Regions from separate parts of the Homo sapiens genome. Here region 2 is linked to region 1. The links are contacts of gene promoters, found by promoter capture Hi-C in human tissues and cell types (Jung and others, 2019). All regions are on one chromosome and are shown on one strand. Each heading gives the region's core, a stretch centred on a gene start or on the middle of the fragment in contact. The rest is flanking DNA. Distances are from core to core; before and after follow the strand shown. Region 1 holds the start of DLG5 (discs large MAGUK scaffold protein 5). Region 2 has its middle 140 kb from the start of KCNMA1.

Evidence for each region. The method cuts DNA at HindIII sites, captures the fragments that hold promoters and counts their contacts. A contact is called where the count stands out against the background at its distance.
Region 2: a fragment that was not itself captured here is called in contact with the fragment with the promoter of DLG5 in region 1 in 1 of the 25 tissues and cell types used here (H1 embryonic stem cells).

The regions. Positions count from the first base shown.
Region 1 is chr10:77,923,887-77,928,428 of GRCh38, reverse strand. It overlaps DLG5 (discs large MAGUK scaffold protein 5), which reads left to right and starts at 1,674. Exons shown (of 32, transcript NM_004747.4): 1 at 1,674-2,212. The coding sequence starts at 1,909. DLG5-AS1 (DLG5 antisense RNA 1) reads right to left here and starts at 1,617. Exons shown (of 1, transcript NR_024585.1): 1 at 1-1,617. The HindIII fragment of the contact is 24,944 bases long and covers 1-4,542 here.
Region 2 is chr10:77,776,196-77,780,311 of GRCh38, reverse strand. It overlaps the pseudogene RNU6-1266P and the pseudogene IMPDH1P5. Among named protein-coding and RNA genes, the nearest start is that of KCNMA1, 140 kb to the right of the region's middle. The HindIII fragment of the contact is 3,053 bases long and covers 118-3,170 here.

The DNA of each region.
Region 1 (4,542 bases), core at 425-2,924:
GAGGGTCAGACTACGGGAGCAGGCAGGTATCTTTAAATAGTTCATTTCTGCCATATTGGGGTCCATCTGGAGGTCTTAAAGAACTTGTAACTCTATGGACCCCATTCCAGAAAAATATATAAATGTTCACAAAAAAGTTGAGATCATGTCAAAAGCTTCATTGACATCCTTGAGCTTATTCATGAAGCCAAGGCTAAGAACCCCTGATCTAATATTCTCCCTCCACCATTTTTCCTAAGGACAAAACAGATCAGCAAGGATTATTGGTTTGTTCCACCTTGTGCAGCTGCTTAGAGGGGAGTCCAAGTCCAAAGTGCAAATTCTGATACTCTTGTTCTTTCTACCATATAGTGAGTTCGTTTCCATAAATAAAAACGACTTCTCCCCTTGAAGAAGCAGACTAAGAAGACACTGCTTTTTGAGGGAAGGGAGGAGGCATGTGGCTGGGACTGGCAGTGTGGGTAGACAAAGTGCCTCTCACCCCCAGCGAGATCCACTCATTCCAACGTAGATATTTGAAATGGACCTGGGTTCCCACTCTACAGAGGAGCACTGCGGGATCACTGAGCGCAGTCAGAGTTCCAGCTTTGAAGGACCTTGTCCTGCAGTCAGGGAGGTAAGCAGTATGTGTCCACAAACGGCTGTCGTGGAAGAGAAGACATTCTTGGGCTTTAAGGGGGACTGCAGATCCTTTCCAAGTCATCAAAGGAAGCAAGGTAGTCCGCTGATTTGTCTCCCTCTGAGACATTTAGGGGGAGAGCGCCTCACTTGCCAGAAAGACCAAGGACTGCACCGCAGACACCCACCTTTCTTTTCCTCATCCGGCGACACATCCTTCCTCCTGCCAACATCCTAACTCCTTTACACTCTGGGGACCAGCTCTTCTCAAATGCTGGCGCGGGGAACAGCCTATTTACCGCAGTTGAGGCGATTTTACTGGGAAATTCTCTTAGGAGCTCCTTGGAGAGGGAAAGCCTCACGGATTCGGCGGAGGTCTTAATCTGGAGATGTCCAAATTTAGGGGAAACCCTCCCCACCATTTGTCTCCAGGCTGTATTTTGGAGTTCTCAGATTAGGACCCTCTGGACTGGGGGCAAGATTTGTATGAGGGGGTCTCCAGCAGCTTGTGGGCTGGCCGCGTGCCAGGCCTGACTCCGTGTCCCCCACCCCCGGCTGCGCCTGGGCCTCGGGGGACCGGGAACCAGCCGGCGCCGCGTCCCCGCCTAGCGGGCGGGCCGGGGACCCCTCCCCTCCGCCCGTCCCCTCCTCCCCTGCTGCCGCCTCCCGGAGGGACGGCCTGGGGAGGGGAGAGAGGAGGGACGGGCCGGCGGCGGCGGGGCTGTGGCCACGGGGGAGCGGGTGGCGGCCGCGGGGCCCCGGTGAGCCGGGCCGGGGTGCACGGGGGCCGAGGCGGCCTCCGAGCCGGGCCGGAGCTGTCGGGAGCCTGGGAAACACGGCCCAGGCGACTTTCTCCCGGGAGTTGTAGTCTTGCTCTGGGGGCGGCGCGCGGCCCGGCTTTCGGGGCGAGTTTTCTCGCGGGGCGGGCGGCGCGCGCGGAGGCTGAGGGGGAGGGGGAGCATGCCCGGCTGGAGCCCGGCCTCGGGGCGCGCCCCGGCCGCCGTCCCCACCTCCGCCTCCTCCTTCTCCTCCTCCGTCTCCTCCTCCTCCTCTTCCAGTCCCGCCGCCGCGGCAGCCAACATGGCTGCGCTCCGGAGCCCGGGAGGCGGCCGCTGCTGAGCGCCGCCCGCCGCCCCGGGCCCCCAGCCCGCCCAGGCCCCGGCCCATGGCTCCCGCCGCCTCACGGCTCCCGGCGCCCTAGGGCTGCTGCCGAGGTGCTCGCCTGCCCGCCCGCCGGCCTCGGGGGGCCCGGGAGGCGTCCGGCGGGGCGGGGCGGCGCGGCCCGCCACCATGGAGCCCCAGCGCCGGGAGCTGCTCGCCCAGTGTCAGCAGAGCCTGGCCCAGGCCATGACGGAGGTGGAAGCCGTGCTCGGGCTGCTCGAGGCCGCGGGAGCGCTCAGTCCCGGCGAGCGGCGGCAGCTGGACGAGGAGGCGGGAGGCGCCAAGGCGGAGCTGCTGCTCAAGCTGCTCTTGGCCAAGGAGCGGGACCACTTCCAGGACCTGCGGGCGGCGCTGGAGAAGACGCAGCCTCACCTGCTGCCCATTCTCTACCTGAACGGCGTCGTCGGGCCGCCGCAGCCCGCCGAAGGCGCGGGTGAGTGGCAGACCCTTGGCCCCCGCCTCTGGGACGCGCCCTCCGCTTCTCCCTCCTGCTGGCCGAGGGTACCTCGCCGGGGCCGCCGCTCCACCTGGCGATGGCCTCGGTGGACTCGCTCCTCTGGCCCAGTTGGGGAGGCGGCGGTGCGCGGATCCCGAAGTCCCGCCGCCTCCCCCAGTCCCGCCGTTCGCTGTGAACAATGCCCCCCGCTGAAGGCCTTCACTCTCAGGTGCCTCGACGACAGGGTCCCCGGGGGCCACCAGGTCCAGTAGCGGGTAGGGGGTACCTCGGAGGATGTCCATCAGTCCCTTTTCTGAGGCTCCTCACCGTCCGCTAGCTTTGGCACCCTGTGCTAGCCTTTAACCAAGGGTACCGTCCAGAAGAATGGGACTTGGGCCAGGACCCCTACTCTTAAGTTTTGGTCGCTGCCATCCTGTGCCGGGGCCACAACTGCTTTTTCATTTTCTGGCTGTCCCAGCTCCTTTTTCTCTGCTCAGAGCCCAGTCTCTCCCAGACTGGTGGCTGATTGTGCACAACGCCTGCCTGGGTTTCTTTGGAAACTGGGCCCGGAAAAGTTGGGGAAGTTGCATTGCACCATGGGAAAATCCTAGTAGTGGCTGCTGGGGCTAAGTTCTCTCCCTGAGAGCACAGAGCTGCTTAACGAGGAAGGCTGGTGACTGGTTCCCTTGAGGGTGCCTTTTGGAACCCCTGTGTCTTTGGTCTTGGGGATGACTGATTTGTAAGTGTGTGTCTGGGTGCAGGAACGGATACTGGCGGGAGTTTCTGACAAGTGGTAGGCTTGTCCTGGCCTGGCCGTGGAGTGTGGAAGCCAGCCTTTTTAGACAAGGCAGCTGGAGGAAGAAGACATGGCACTGAGGGAGGAGGAGAACTAGCATTTATTGGGCATCTACTGTTGTGGCAGGCGCTCTGCTTTATCACGTTCAGTTGTCGTTGCCACTATGTGAGCTTTCTGTTATTCTTTGCCAGAGAGAAAACTCTGGCTTGGAGTGGTTAAAATGCTCAGAAAGTATTGGGCACCAGGAATTTTGAATTATAACCTATTGTTTGATTTAACTTGTTCAGAGCCAGGAAACAAAGTGCCATCTTTCTAGGTCTTGTCCCTGTTTTAACAGTGAATCGATAGGTACAGTAAAAATAAATAAGGATATATGTATAAAAGAAAAACAAGTGAACCGAGAGGGCTGAGAAACTGCCCTTAGCAACCTGAAGGTCAAAGGCTGATGGGACCCATTTATTTGGCTGTTAAAAGCCCCACTTATTAAGGGAATGATTTTATAAGGCATTCCTGGTAACAGCTCTCTTACGTTGGCCATCTTAACCTCAATTTTTGTAGCTGCAGGAAACTGACAGAGAGACTAAATTGCTGGCCACACAGCAGGTCATTTCATTGGTGGCCCTCCCGTCTCCACTTTGAGCTTCTGACTTGCATCTCTGTCCCTCAAACCTGCATTCTTTCCCCCCAGTTGTGGTCATGTCAGAGTTACTGGGCAAACCTAGTCCTTTCCTGGGATAGTGCTTTGGGAGATGCTAGGAAGGGACTGTCAGATGTGGCCATGAGGATAAGGACAGAGGGGATCTCAACAAAGTAATTTTTTTCTTTTTAATTGTATCTATGTATCTATCTAATCTATCTCTGAATGAAGAAGTTAAGATCTGTTTCTGAAAGTCTTTCGTAAAGCACAGAACTTAGTACAGACTGGAAGTCTGCGTTGGGAAGCATGTGAATCAACGCTCGCCTTAATCTCTGAAAATTGATTGATGGATCAATTGCCATTAATTAGGTCTCACCCTTTCCGTGTCTGGTGGAGAATGTGGGGCCTCATGGGGCTGAAGTTCTAGGAGCTAGTCTTGACCTCTAAGGAAGGCAGAGATTAGGGTTTGGATTTTATCCCCTAGGGCATTGATTTCAGACCCCAGTTTTACCACAATGCAGAGTTATGTGACTTTGGAGAGGGTCATGAAATCCTTAGAAAAATACTTTTCAAGGAGAAGTTAAGTTCATTTTACTTAATGCATTAGAAAAACGCTGGTTGGGTGTGGTGGCTCATGCCTGTAATCCCAGCACTTTGGGAGGCCGAGGCGGGCAGATCTCTTAAGGCCAGGAGTTCGAGACCAGCCTGGCCAACATGGTGAAACCCCGTCTCTAATAAAAATACAAAAATTAACTGGGCGTGGTTGTGGGCGCCTGTAGTCCCAGCTACTTGGGAGGCTGAGGCAGGAGAATCACTTGAATCTGGGAAGTGGAGGTTACAGTGAGTTGACATGGTGCCCTTGGATTCCAGCCTAGGTGACAGAGCAAGACTCCT
Region 2 (4,116 bases), core at 395-2,894, 150 kb after region 1:
GGTGGTGGAGGGGGTGCACCCCAGTGTCCACCTTGGGGCACAGTCTCCCTCCATCACTGAGTGGTACACAGATTTGCACTATGGGTTCCCCAGCTCCTTTCCAGGGAGAGAAGAGGGGAGGTCCTGAGGGGTCTGCGGCCCCTTGCTTGGCATCCCCTGCAGAGTCAGGACTGCTTCCTGGGCCAGGCTGCCCTGGGAGCCCCCCCTGCTCAGCTAGCTGGGCTCTCAGGCCCTGCACCTGCCTCAGGTCTTTCTTGCTGCAGCCTGCTGCAGCCTCCTTCAGCCTGGCCCCCACCCCAGGGGCAGGCAACCCCTCCTGGCTTCTTCTCTAGGGCAGCTTCCTGCCCCCAGACCCCCAGGAAATGGTGCTGTCCTGGCCCTGCCTCTGGCCCTTCCAGGGTCCTGTCCCCTCAGCCATGTGGCACTTCTGAGCTCCTGACCTAGGCCAAGGGGAGGTCTCTGCCCCCTTCCCCGGCCCTGGGCTACCCTTGGGTCCTGCTCCTCAGGCTACTCCCCTGTTCCTGGCCCTGGGGAGGAAGCTGCCCTGGTCATGGCTACCTGCCTGTCATTCCTGACTCACCACCGTCCCGAGGTGTACCATTCCTGCCCTCTTCCTCAGCTGCAGTTGAAGGCTTTAACTTTGCACTCTTTGGGATCACAGTTGCGTCAGTGTGTATTAAATAATCAGAATAAATCAAGCAGGTTTCAATGCCTCCAAATATATATCTATATCTATATAGATATATATATAGATATCAGTCTCATGCCACTCTTCATCCCAAAAAGTAACACTATTTTTATGCATTTCTAAATCCCTACTGCTGCTTTCTGCAGATACCAGCTAAATCAAATGTGAATTCATGTTCCCTCCTTCACACCCAGAAGGTAGCATACATAAATGTTCAGTATCTTAATTTTTTTCCACATAACACAGAAAACAGGTGCCGTGACCCTACTGCAGTCACTGCTGTGGTGGCAAATGGACTCGTTAGAGGAGGGGAGTCCGAAAGTGCAGAACTGCCAGGCAAGGAGCCTAGAGGCAGGAGAACGCAAGTCCATGTCAGTAGGGGGAGGGTTCAAAGTGCATCCTGGGGAGCCTGCTTCCCTGGCAAAGGTGCTACCAAAATGCTAACCAGTCCTCGAGAAAGACACAGAAGACTGGGAGAGGGGTGTGTGTATATGGGGTGGGGGTGGGGGAGCCCTGGGGCTATGGGAGCTCTTAGCAGAAGAGTTGCAGCCCCTGTCCTGGGAATCACATGTAGTGATTCCTGAGTGTAGAACAGCCATTGTGTATCCTGGGGTCACAGGGAACAGAGATCTTCTCCCGAAACTGGACAAGGAAGAGTGCCTGTCTGGGCTCACCCCCTTGATGCTTGTGTGATATTTTGAGCTTGAAGTGTTGGATGAGACCTTGAGACCTGAAGGGAAGGGAGGAGCTTGGAGGGAGGAACACCAAGTATGTCAAACGTCCTGGGAAGTGAAGAAAGAAATGTATATTGGCCGCCACCAAGAAGAATATGGAAGGGAGTTTCCCCTGAGGACTAGGAGTTGTCGGTGGTCCTCCAGTACGGTGGGTGGAGATGCTGCCTTCGGGATTCACTATGGGTGATGACTGGATGGGACCAGAAAGATAAAAGGGCTGGACCTCTGTGGTCTTGTGCAGTGTGCACCACCGTGGGAATGGGCTCTAATTGCAAAACACCTGCAATGTGCCAGACATTATACTGGGTGACTTTCCTATGCTTTTATATGTTTGCCCAGGGTTAAGGTCCTTTATTCTTTTTTTTTTTTTTAATGGTCAGTATTTCATTGTGGCATTCTTTTATTCAAATTAAAATTAAACTTATTTTTATGGAGATCAACGTAATTAACTACATGTCTAATATAAAGAGCAATAAACCTTGTTATTTTAAAACCACACAACATTATTTTGATATTTTGAGCCAAACATGCAAAACTTGACTTAAAATTGCATATTTGATGCATTTAAGATAAATTCTAAATGAAAATCTAAATCATGCTTTTATTGTAAATATTAATATAGGCACATGGAAAACATCCAAGCAGTATAAGCAAGGCATGAAGTAAAAAGTCTGAGTCCATCGACAGTGTAAAGGGTCTGACTATTACCACCTTAACTGTGATCACACTTCACTTCAGTAATAATTATAGACCACCCAAATGAAAATGAGCAGCAGCTACTTATTCTCAGTGTGGTATATACACAGAGAGTCAGCCACAGTCACTTGCCATTGCAGACACTCAAAGGCAGTCAGCGGAGTGAGAAAGCTTTATGCTGGGAAAAGGGGAGGCTTCAGGTGAGCCTTGATCAAAGGCTGTTGGCATCTGGAGGCTGTGGGTGAGCTAACTAGAAGCAGGGTATCCTATGTGATTGGTTAGGGAAGCATATTTGGCCTTCTCTGGTTGGTCCTACTAAAGGATTTTCAAAACAGAGGCAAGAATTAGGGAAGCTGGCAGGTACTGATCAAGTCCGGGCCATTTGGGACCAAAGGCTACAGGGGTTGTTTGGCTTCCTGGACTGGTTACTGCAGACTGTGGGTCAGAGTTCTGTTTTTGTATATGATCTGCCCATGGTCTGTATATTCTAGTAGATCCCATAATGAAACCACCAGATATGAGTTACAACATGAAGTAAGTAAGTACACAGTGTCAACTGGAATGTGTTCTTGCCAAAAATCCTCCACCTGGGTCTTATCAAGGCTTTAAATCCAACTGCTGGTTTATAGGAAGTTTAGGGAATGAAGACACAATCAGGCAAATCTAAAATGAAGGATATTCTATAAGACAATGACCTGGTCTCTTCAATGCTATGGATTTAAAAAGGGCTGGGGAAGGAGGGCTGGTGGGAGGACTGTTTTAGATTGAAAGAATGTTGAGACTTGAATAACCAAATAAAATAAACATTGAAACAGGCCCAGTTTTCTCATAAAACTGAAGCTTGGGCCGGGCGCGGTGGCTCAAGCCTGTAATTCTAGCACTTTAGGAGGCCAAGGTGGGTGGATCACCTGAGGTCAGGAGTTCGAGACCAGCCTGGCCCACATGGCAAAACCCCGCCTCTACTGAAAATACAAAAATTAGCCAGGCGTGGTGGCATACACCTGTAATCCCAGCTACTTGGGAGGCTGAGGCAGGAGAATCACTTGAATCTGGGAGGTGGAGGTTGCAGTGAGCCAAGATGGTGCCACTTCACTCCAGCCTGGGTGAAAGAATGAAACTGTTGTCTTGAAAAAACAAAGTGCTCACTTCAGCAGCACATATTCTAAAATTGGAACGATACAGAGAAGATTAGCATGGCCCCTGTAAGGATGACACTCAAATTAGTGAAGGATTCCATATTTTAAAAAAAACAAAAACCTTGAAGCTTGGAAAACTTACATTTGTCTTATCTGAGTTCCTTTCTTGGGAAACCAACCATCGGGCCTCCTGAATGATACCGGGAACTGAGACTTTCCAGATCACTGCCACTGGACAGTGAGGTGCACCTGCTCCTTGTTGACCAACTTCTTATCCCTGCCTCATTCCTGTTTTCCCACATGTGGTTACAATGAGATGCTGGAACCCCTTATACTACCGCCTGCTGCCTATTGACCAACTCCTCGTCCCTGCCCCTCTTCTTTTCCCTTAACTTTAGTTGGTGGGAAGGGACGTATTTGAGGCTGGTCTCCCTTCTCTCTGGCTGACATCACTCAAATAAAATCTTCTTCCCTGGCAATACTTGTTGCCACAGTGATTGGCTTTCTGTGTGGTGAGCAACAGGACCTAGACCAAGCCCCTGGTGATCAGCAACAACATTTGGGAAACAATTGAGATTTTCATATGGACTCAATTATATGGTATTGGGGAATCACTTATTGTGTTAGGGTGTTAATGGCATCTTGTAGGGGAATATGTTGAGGCAAGGTAAACTCAACACTTTAAAGATGCAGCATCTGAAGTAATTTCCTCTGAAATGGCTCATTAAAAAAAATTTATAATGCAGTATGGCGAAATGTAGTCTTAGATCTAAGTGGTGAGTACATGGGTTTTCATGACAGAAAAACAGACTAGTCTGTGTTTGTACTTTTTGTAATCATGTTTAGAGGGGAGTCTATTGTG